Linked DNA regions of Homo sapiens: region 2 is linked to region 1. Evidence: promoter capture Hi-C in 16 types of primary human blood cells and fetal thymus (Javierre and others, 2016). All regions are on one chromosome and are shown on one strand. The core of a region is centred on a gene start or on the middle of the fragment in contact, and the rest is flanking DNA. Distances in the headings are between cores, read along the strand shown.

What was found. The method cuts DNA at HindIII sites, captures the fragments that hold promoters and counts their contacts. A CHiCAGO score of 5 or more calls a contact.
Region 2: a contact is called between a fragment that was not itself captured here and the fragment with the promoter of C12orf50 in region 1, in 5 of 17 cell types (non-activated CD4 T cells, naive CD4 T cells, total CD4 T cells and 2 more). The highest score is 7.6, in non-activated CD4 T cells.

The regions. Positions count from the first base shown.
Region 1 is chr12:88,028,064-88,033,266 of GRCh38, reverse strand. C12orf50 (chromosome 12 open reading frame 50) reads left to right here and starts at 3,866. Exons shown (of 13, transcript NM_152589.3): 1 at 3,866-3,927. LOC107984542 (a long non-coding RNA gene) reads left to right here. Exons shown (of 3, transcript XR_007063395.1): 3 at 1-174. The HindIII fragment of the contact is 7,634 bases long and covers 1-5,203 here.
Region 2 is chr12:88,162,758-88,167,815 of GRCh38, reverse strand. TMTC3 (transmembrane O-mannosyltransferase targeting cadherins 3) reads right to left here. Exons shown (of 14, transcript NM_181783.4): 7 at 1,234-1,486. Among named protein-coding and RNA genes, the nearest start is that of TMTC3, 23 kb to the right of the region's middle. The HindIII fragment of the contact is 2,457 bases long and covers 2,130-4,586 here.

The DNA.
Region 1 (5,203 bases), core at 2,617-5,116:
CAGAATGAAATTCACAACAGTAAAGAATAGAACTGAAGAGAATAAGGAAAAGAAAAAAGGGGCTGAGGGAGAAGGAAAAGAAAAGAGAGTTTAAAAAGGTAGAGAAGGTAAGACTCCAGGCATTCTAAACACTACCAAAATGTACAGATCTATTTTATGTGCTCTGCAATGACAAAAAAAAAAAAAAAAAAAAAAAAAAATCCCATGTGAGTTTGACCTGTTTTTGCTGTGTCTACTGGAATGTAGCTGTTTGCACCTAACTTCAAGAAGTAAACACTTTTTTTCAGACTTTCTCCTTTGTAAAACAGGAATTCTCACAATGACTTTAATCATGATGTTACATGTAACATGCAATAATAGTGTTTGGTAAGAATATTTGAAAACAGTCCAATGAAGCTACAAGTTCGCAGGTGTAGACAGTGTTTATCTGGAGGCAAAACACACTTAAAATATTTCTTAGGGATGTTTCTCCCAGTAGCTTAAGTGCTTACTTCATGGGTGCTTTGTTCTAGAGTTAGAAGATAGGGCAAAACAAAATGTAGTTATATTTTTCTATGTATCTTTGCCAGTATTTTCAAGGGTTTAGCCAAATCTTTATTCTCTACTTCATTTACCTCTCACACTACCTCGTTTTTTTAATTATGTTCAATTTACATTTAAAAACTTTTTTCTATATTTTATTTTATTTTACATATCAGATTTTTATCCTAAAACATTGTCTTCCAAAAGTTCCCAGCAGCTTAGCTTGTTTTACATAACCGAAGTGGGAATTCATATTTGTCTTAGTCTTTTACATTTCTAATTAAACATACATGACAATTTAAAAATACGTTTTTATCTAGAGTAATGTGTGATTTTCATGGCACCTTTTATGTTATTTATTGATATGACTTGGCTGTGTCCCCACCCAAATCTCAACTTGAATCATATCCACCAGAATTCCTATGTGTTGTGGGAGGGACCCAGGGGAAGTAATTGAATCATGGGGGTGGGTCTTTCCCATGCTAATCTCATGGTAGTGAATAAGTCTCACAAGATCTGATAGTTTTCTCAGGGGTTTCCACTTCTGCTTCCTCCTCATTTTATCTTGCTGCCACCATGTAAGAAGTGCCTTTTACCTCCCACCATGATTCTGAGGCCTCTCTAGCCATGTGGAACTGTAAGTCCAATTAAACCTCTTTTTCTTCCCAGTCTTTATCAGCAGTGTGAAAGCAGACTAATACAGTAAATTGGTACTAGTAGAGTGGGGTGTTGCTGAAAAGATACCCAAAAATGTGGAAGTGACTTCAGAACTGGGTAACAGGCAGAGGTTGGAACAGTTTGGAGGGCTCAGAAGAGACAGGAAAATGTGAGAAAGTTTGAACCTCCTAGAGACTTGTTGAATGGCTTTGACAAAAATGCTGATAGTGATATGAACAATAAGGTCCAGGCTGAGGTGGTCTCAGACAGAGATGAGGAACTTGTTGGGAACTGGAGCAAAGGTGATTCTCGTTATATTTTAGCAAAGAGACTGGCAGCATTTTGCCCCTGCCCTAGAGATTTGTGGAACTTTGAACAAAGTACCTGAGAGATGATTTCAGGTATCTGGTATTGCTGAATCTGGAAGATTGAATGCTTAGCAAAGCATTCAAAAGGTGACTTGGGTGCTGTTAAAAGCATTCCATTTTAAAAGGGAAACAGAGCATGAAAGTTTAGAAATTTGCAGCCTGATGATGCAGTAGAAAAGAAAAACCCATTTTTTGAGGAGAAATTCAAGCCAGCTGCAGAAATTTGTATAAGTAGCAAGGAGCCTAATGTTGATCCCCAAGACCATGGGGAAAATGTCTCCAGGGTATGTCAGAGACCTTCACGGCAGCCCCTCCCATCACAGGCCCAGAGGCCCAGGAGGAAAAAGTGGTTTTATGGGCTAGGCCCAGGGTCCCCGTGCCATCTGTAGCCTAGGGACTTGGTGCCCTGTGTCTCAGCCAATCTAGCCATGACTGAAAGGGGCCAACATAGAGCTCGAGCTGTGGCTTCAGAGGGTGCAGGCCCCAAGCCTTGGCAGCTTCCACATTGCTGTTGAGCCTGCAGGAGCACAGAAGGCAAGAATTGAGGTTTGGAAACCTCCACTTAGATTTCAGAAGATGTATGGAAACACCTGGATGCTTAGGTAAAAGTTTGCTGCAGAAGTAAGGACCTCATGGAGAACCCCTGCTAGGGCAGTGTGGAAGGGAAATGTGGGCTGGAGCCCCCACACAGAGTCCCTCCTGGGGCACTGCCTAGTGGAGCTTTTAGAAGAGAGCCACCATCCTCCAAACCCCAGAATGGTAGCTCCACTGACAGCTTGTGCCATGCACCTGGAAAAGCCACAGACACTTAATGCCAGCCTGTGAAAGCAGCCAGGAGGGAGGCTGTACCCTGCAAAGCCACAGGGTCAGAGTGCCCAAGACCATGGGAACCCACCTTTTGCATCCACATGACCTGGATGTGAGACCTGGAGTCAAAGGACATCATTTTGGAGCTTTAAAATTTGACTGCCCTGCTGGAATTAGGACATGCAGGGGTCCTGTAACTCCTTTGTTTTGGCCAACTTATCCCACTTGCAGTGGCTTTGCCCAATACCAGTATCCCCATTGTATCTAGGAAGTAACTAGCTTGTTTTTGATTTTACAGACTCATAGGTGGAAGGGATTTGCCTTGTCTCAGATGAGACACTGGACTGTGGACTTTTGGATTAATACTGAAATGAGTTAAGACTTTGGGGGACTATTGGAAAGGCATGATTGGTTTTGAAATGTGAGGACATGAAGTTTGGAGGGACAAGTGGTGGAATGATATGGTTTGGCTCTGTCTCCACCCAAATATCAACTTGAATTGTATCTCCCAGAATTCCCACATGTTGTGGGAGGGATTCAGGGGGAGGTAATTGAATCATGGGTACGGGTTTTTCCCATGCTAATCTCATGATAGTGAATAAGTCTCATAAGATCTGATCAGTTTATCAGGGGATTCTACCTTTACTTTCTCCTCATTTTCTCTTGCCACCGCAGTGTAAGAAGTGCCTTTCACCTCCTGCCATGATTCTGAGGCCTCCCCAGCCATGTGGAACTGTAAGTCCAATTAAACCTCTTTTTCTTCCCAGTTGGGTATGCTTTTATCAGCAGCATGAAAACGGACTAATACATTTATGAGGAATATTTTTTATTAATTTCTGCTGGGTTTTAATTATTTGATTAAAGATACTAAGAGGAAGATATAAATAACTGCTGATTGAAATGTTTCATTCTGGAAATCAGAGTATTTCCCTTGTTTTCAACAAATTCTCAAAGCCTTCAAGCACTCTGGAAACTTTCTGCTATAGGAAGAAGATATTCCTCTTTTTATGATGGATGAAAAATAAATGGAATATAGCCACAAGATGAATAAGTAGCCCAATATATTTTCAGGTACCTATTAATATATCACAATTTGAATATGATTTTTCCCAAATCAATGGATAGTAGAGAGTACATATTTAAATAATTGTTTTTATTATCTTAGAATATGAGTAGCTCATTTACCTATGGCAAATTTTTAGTGTTATTCCCAAAACCTCTATAGAAACGAAGATTTAGAAATAGCTGTTTACTTGTGAAATACTTATCACTTTCTATTATAAAAGTATAAACTAGTTTATAGTCCATATTCAACGAGAACATTGAAAGATTAAAGTATGCTATTTTATTTTTGCTAGTCCTTTGTAGTTAATATGCTAAAACTGAGTAAGGGAAATACAGTGTTCACTCAGGTAAACTGTAGTTTACCTGAGTGAACATTGGCCTGCAGTTACATGTGAGGTCATTTATGATGAGCAAACAATGGATTAGGTAACAATGAGGAAAATTCTAGAAGTTTGAGTTTGTGTGCTTACTAGCAACCACTTTCAGCGTTTCTGCAAAGCTAGAGAAGGTATCTTCTAATTTAAATGTCTTTAAGAATTATCTATTGCGTAATATACTGTCAACAGGAGGTCAGTTTTAAAGGAATACTACTGATAGCCTGAAAGACTGTGGAAAAGAAATTATTTTTCCCCCTTACACACTGATAGTTCTTGTATTTGCATTCCTGAAATTCATATATATTTTTCAAAAAAAAAAAACCATTGGATTAGCAGCAAGAGAGTTGAAAATGGCAGAAGTTGGGAATGACTGCTATTTCTTTTTTAATTCCACATGCATAAAGGTAAATATTGTACAATTGACAGTACTTCACATGCTTAATCTTTTTAGTAGAATGAAGGGAGATATGGCAATAACTTGTATTGCTGAACAAAAATTTACTATTTTCTTGCAAGATATCTTATATTTGTAAAATCTGGAGTAACAGCTTATCATGTATTTTTGACATACTGAATTTCTCTGAAGAAATCTGAGATAATTTAAAATTATTATTTGTTTGAAACTACCCTTATATATACCAGTTATATGTCTATAGCTTTTGAATCTTCATGTGGCACTTTTGCCTATATTATGACACCTTGAGACATTAAATTCCTAATATTAAAACATCATAGGTTACAAGATATTGTTTTAGTTAATATGATTCCAGTCATTATAATTCAAATAGTTGAATTCAGGTAAGTGTCAATCTTAGTGTAATAAATCTGTTTTCCTATTTGAAATTTATTAACCCAATTACTGAATTTTCCTCTGTCAAAAGTCTAAGTAATAACAAATATTTAAATATCATTAAAAAAGAAAATTAATATAAACAAATTGGCCACATATAAATTAAACTTTATAAAGTTAAATGGGAAAAACTGAGAATTCCTCCAATGTATTAGGATGTATAGATCTTAGTAAAACCAGATAAAGGTAGAAACTCAATATTTGGAGCTTTGTGCTCATGCAAGAAATAATCCAGTGAAAAAGATGATATGTCTGGTTTCAAGTGTTTCCTCTCTGTTAGGAAACCTGAATGGAGTCAACCTCTCTGACCACAGAAATTGGATTCACTTCTATTACCTGTTAGATTAAATGCTAGGATAATAAAGAATAATAACAGATTTCATGTCCCAGGTGGGCAGAGTGTTTTGTCTATTTCACTGCTGTATCCCCAAGTACTTAGCAGAGTGGCTAATGAGTAAGTTACCAGTAAATAATTAAATGAATAAATAATAATAATAGCTCACAATACCTTATATCACATCATTTTTACAGCTAACCTGTAAGGAAAGTAGTTTTTA
Region 2 (5,058 bases), core at 2,109-4,608, 140 kb before region 1:
ACTATCTTCTATGAACTCCAGACATAAAGTGCTGTTCAAAATGTCCAACAGGATGTTTCAACAGTAATGCAAACTCAACATGTTCAAGGATAATAGACAACACAATCTTTAAATCTACTCTGTATCTCAGACATCCAAATTTCTCTAGAATGTAAGTTCTCTGGAAACGTGAACTGTGTAAGTTCTCTGGAAACGTGAACTGTGTATTTACTATCATAACCTCAGCACCTAAAATGCTGCACTGTACAAAGGGTAAAGTCTAAGTTTTTATTGAATGAATAAATCAATCTAGCAGCTACAGCAAAAAATTATGTATCTGCAATTCATTAAACATACTTTCTGACATATAATAAATGCCTGAGAAAATGTACTATTGTCTTCAATAAACTTTTATTTTTATTTTTGTTTTTTTGAGAAAGAGTATTGCTCTGTCGCCCAGACTAGAGTGCAGTGGCGCAATCTCAGCTCACTGCAAATTCCACCTCCCTGGTTCAAGTGATTCTTGTGCCTCCGCCTCCTGAGTGGCTGGGATTACAGGCACCCACTACCACACCCAGCTACCCAGCTAATTTTTGTATTTTTAGTAGAGACGAGAGTTTCACCAGGTTGACCAGGCTGGTCTCAAACTCCTGGCCTCAAATGATCCACCTGCCTTGGCCTCTCAAAGTGCTGGGATTACAGGCAAGAACCAACGCACCCAGCCTGTCTTCAATAATTAAAAGGGAGAGAAAACATAACTCTTATGAGTATGAAGTGACACAGGGTAAGAAAATAAGAAGAAAAACAGTACAGAAAAACCACCACCAAAAAAAAAAAAAAAAAACTGTTCAAATAATCAGAGTTCTCCGAACATAGTGAAAGCTATCTAAGGGAGTAATAAAAACCACCTTGCTCATGAGAACTGAAAAGCTCTATATTTCTAGTTGTATATCTTATATGATGTTCTTCTCTGTGCCAAGAAAACAAATAATATACAATATAATCAATTTCTTCAAAAAGTGTATAATCTAGTTGGATAAAGGTAACAAATATTTTATGTGCTGAACATATGTCAAATTATGCCTGCAAATTAACTGAGAATTTTGGGATAAACTCAAATACGTTTATAAATTGGGATGCCGTTGAACAAAGAAAGGAGTGCTTCTAAAAAGATGCTTTTGCTGAATTAAAGGTAGTTTCTTACTTATTCAACTGAATGTTAACATCATTTGGAAGTTAAGAAAAGTTTCTTACCATTAAAACAGTCTTGGAGGAATCACCAGAGTATCTGATACTGAATACTCCCAACATCCCCAGAAAACAAAAGAAAGTAAATGTGGCCAGATTTCGAATATCTAGTAATGACTCTATAAGTGGTATTGTTCCCATGGTCCAATCACAGCAGAGCTCTGAAGGATTTAATAACAACCAAGCATTCACAGGAAGGAGGTAGTTAAAAGTTAGTTGCCTTGTAGGAGTTGGGCTTACAGCAGCTGGGTTATCAAACCTGTATAAAGGATTAAAAAAAAGATTACAAATAAAACTTTTAAAGTACAGAATTATTTACATAAGTAAAACACTAAACAATAAACATTTTATATATCATCTTATTAAACAGAAGACACAGACAAATGTTATGTGTACCTCAGACTCTTGCTAGAGTTCAAACTATCAAAACTTTATGAAACATCTACTTCAGAGAAGTGATATTTATGAAGGACTGTTTGAAAGGCAAGCAGGTCATCCATTTCTGTTTATTATTAGAATAATTCAGACATGCATCCTATAATATTACAACACTGCAAAAGTGTTCCATTAAACCTTTTGATTAAAAGTAGTAACAAAAAGTTGTATAAGATTTATGGTTGTATGTGTTGTATGAATCACTTTTGAAAACACTCACCAATGCTTTCCTACATGAGACATTTCTTTTAGAGCTAAATGCTAATTAAAAATTATGCTTCCTGGAAAAAATTCGTATATTTTTCTTCTGTCATGGAGAGAGAAAACCATATCACCTAGCTTCCTTCCCTCTTTTCTTTGACTCCTAGGAAGCTAAAAACCAAATTTCTAGTACAAAGTAGTAACTGTGTAGGCCTGTGTAAGAATTTGTGTTCTACTTTCTCTCTTAGTAAATACTAATATAAGCTTATATCATAGTTTATCTTTTCCCAGGCCACAACATATATACATTTCATTAGTTTAGTCTGTGTTCTAAATTATATTGGTTATAATATATAGTACTTAAAAGACCCATTTTCTCATTTTAAGATGAGTAAGCCAAGGAAAATCAACTACTGCCACTTATTTGACTTGATTTTCTGAAAACATATCAAATATTTGATAAAAATAAATACTATTTGAACAAATAATATCATTTCAAAATTTTCATACGGAATCTCACAACTTACATATTATTTTTCAGATAAAATAATAAATCTTGAGTCTGAACTTGAATTCTCAAAATAACCAGCAGAACTGAATAAAAAGTTATCTTTTTGCCTATAATTCACTATTCGGAATTTAGTTTTAAAAATTACAGTTTATTTAGGATAGCTGATTTAAAGAAAGAGTTAATGTCAAAATAAATCAAATTATATTAAATCCAACTTCAGAGGGTAATAGAATTTATACACACATACACAAACATATATACACAATGTTGAAATGCTTTATTTGGAAAATATTTATATGCTATAAGCACCATATTCATACCTACTAACACATACATAAATTCACACCTATAAACTATATTTTTAGACTGTAGATAGGGAAATAGAAAATAGTTGATTCAAATTCTCTAAAAGGAATAACAGAAAACCAATGAAACTAAGAAGGAAATCCGAAGTCTTATATAAACAATTCAATCTTCTCTATTTCCAATACTGTAATATCTGCACAAGTTCATTTTAGCACGGCTAGACTCAGAGATAAAAATCCAGGATATTAACAAGTAATTATTCTTTAAAGAAAAAAAAATGCTAGGGAGGATAGTTATGTGAAAATATCACACAGTTTTGGGTTTAAAAATTATCTGAATAAAATTTATTCTACCCAGCGCCAGCAATGCACGATCATGTAACATAATGTGAATAACATGTTGGCCTTTTGTTAAAAATAAAAGTTCTTGCATGTAATGGCAATAACTTAAAATTGAACAGGGAAATAGTATAAATTTCATTTTAAATTTTAGCCAAGTCAGGTGAAATGAAAAAAGGCTAAATGTTAAAGTAGATAAATATGATATGCAGACTTAAAATTCACTATATCTTCTGCTTTCTAGCCTTAAACAACTAAAAAACTGTATAAGAGGTATAATTTTTTTTTAAACATACTGAGCATAAGGTGAAAAAGGACTGTAATACCTGAGAGAAGAAAAACAAATAAGGGGAGCTTTTTCTGGAAAGAGTTTAGTACCTGGATAGAGTTTTTAGTCAGTAAAACAGCAAGAGGGAACCCAGGCTGAGCCCAGTGGTATACTGAATTGAGAGTATGAAGTTGGGAGCCCTAGGAGTGCGGGGGCTAGAATTAGTGAGGAAGAATCCAGACAGAAGAAAGCTGCTGAGAAAGAGAACCTGAGACATCTGTAGAGGGTCTCTCTCCAGTTTTCAATATTGATGAGTTCTTTTTTTTTTTTTTTTTTTTTTGAGACAAAGTCTTGCTTTGTCACCCAGGCTGGAATGCCATGGCACAGTCTTGGCTCACTGCAACCTCTGCCTCCCAGGTTCAAACGATTCTTGTGCCTCAGCCTCCCGAGTAGGTGGGATCAGTCGTGCACCACCACGCTGGCTAATTTTTCTATTTTTAGTAGAGATGAGGTTTCCCCATGTTGGCCAGGCTGGTCTCAAACTCCTGACCTCAAGTGATCACCTCAGCCTCTCAAAGTGCTGGGATTACAGGCGTGAGCCACCACACCTGGCCTGATTTTGATGAGTTCAAATCAGCACATATATGTGAGGAAATACCCATGGTCGGTGTAGTGGGTTGAATCATATTTCTAAAAAATTCATGTCTACCCTAACTTCAGAATGTGGTGTTATTTGAAAATAGTTTCTGCCAATATTAGTTAAGATGAGGTCACACTGGGTTAGGGTGGGCCCTAAATCCAACGACTGGGGTCCTCATAAAAAGAGAAGAAAGAGATACACTGGAAAAGAAGGCAATGTGAAGACAAAGTAGATTGAAGTGATGGAGTTACAAGCCAAGGAATGCCAAAGACTGCTAGCAACCACCAGAAACCAGCAGACAGTTATGGAACAAATTCTTCCTTAGAGCCTCCAGAAGGAACCAATTGTGCTGACATACTGATTTGGTATTTCTGGCCTCTTGAACTGTGAGGGAACAAATTTCTGTTATTTTAAGCTATTCAGTTTGTAGTTATTTGTTACAGCAGCCTTCAGAAAACTAATACAATCAGGCAAAAACCTCCTGAATGCATTAGAGCTAAAAATTCCCAAATATACCGAGCCAGGAATAGTTCCTCGGCAGACAGTGTGGAAATCTTCGTAATTTACAGTTCACATCCAATAGTCAAAAAGATCTTGCATCAGTAGTGAAGTGAAATTAGTCTTATCCTAAATGCTATTGTGGTCCCACAAAACAAAGCTTAAAAGCAAGACTGGGCTGGGTGCAGTGGCTCATGCCTGTAATCTCAGCACTTTGGGAGGCTGAGGTGGGCGGATCACCTCAGGTCAGGAGTTCAAGATCAGCCTGACCAATATGGAGAAACCCTATCTCTACTAAAAATACAAAAATCAGCTGGGCGTGGTGGCGCATGCCTGTAGTCTCAGCTACTCAGTAGGCTGAGGCAGGAGAATCGTTTAAACCTGGGAGGTGGAGGTTGCGGTGAGCCGAGATTGCGCCATTGCACTCCAGCCCTGGGCAACAAAAGCGAAACTCTAATCTCAAAAAAAAAAAGAAGAAAGAAAAAAAGCAAGACTGAAAGATAAAACATTTTCCAAGTAACTTAAATGCATTCCAGAATAAAACTCAAAATTTATAGAATACATTAAGGTAAAATTCACAAATGGTATCTGTTCAACAATTTCCCGACATGCAAAGAAGCAGAGAAATACAACC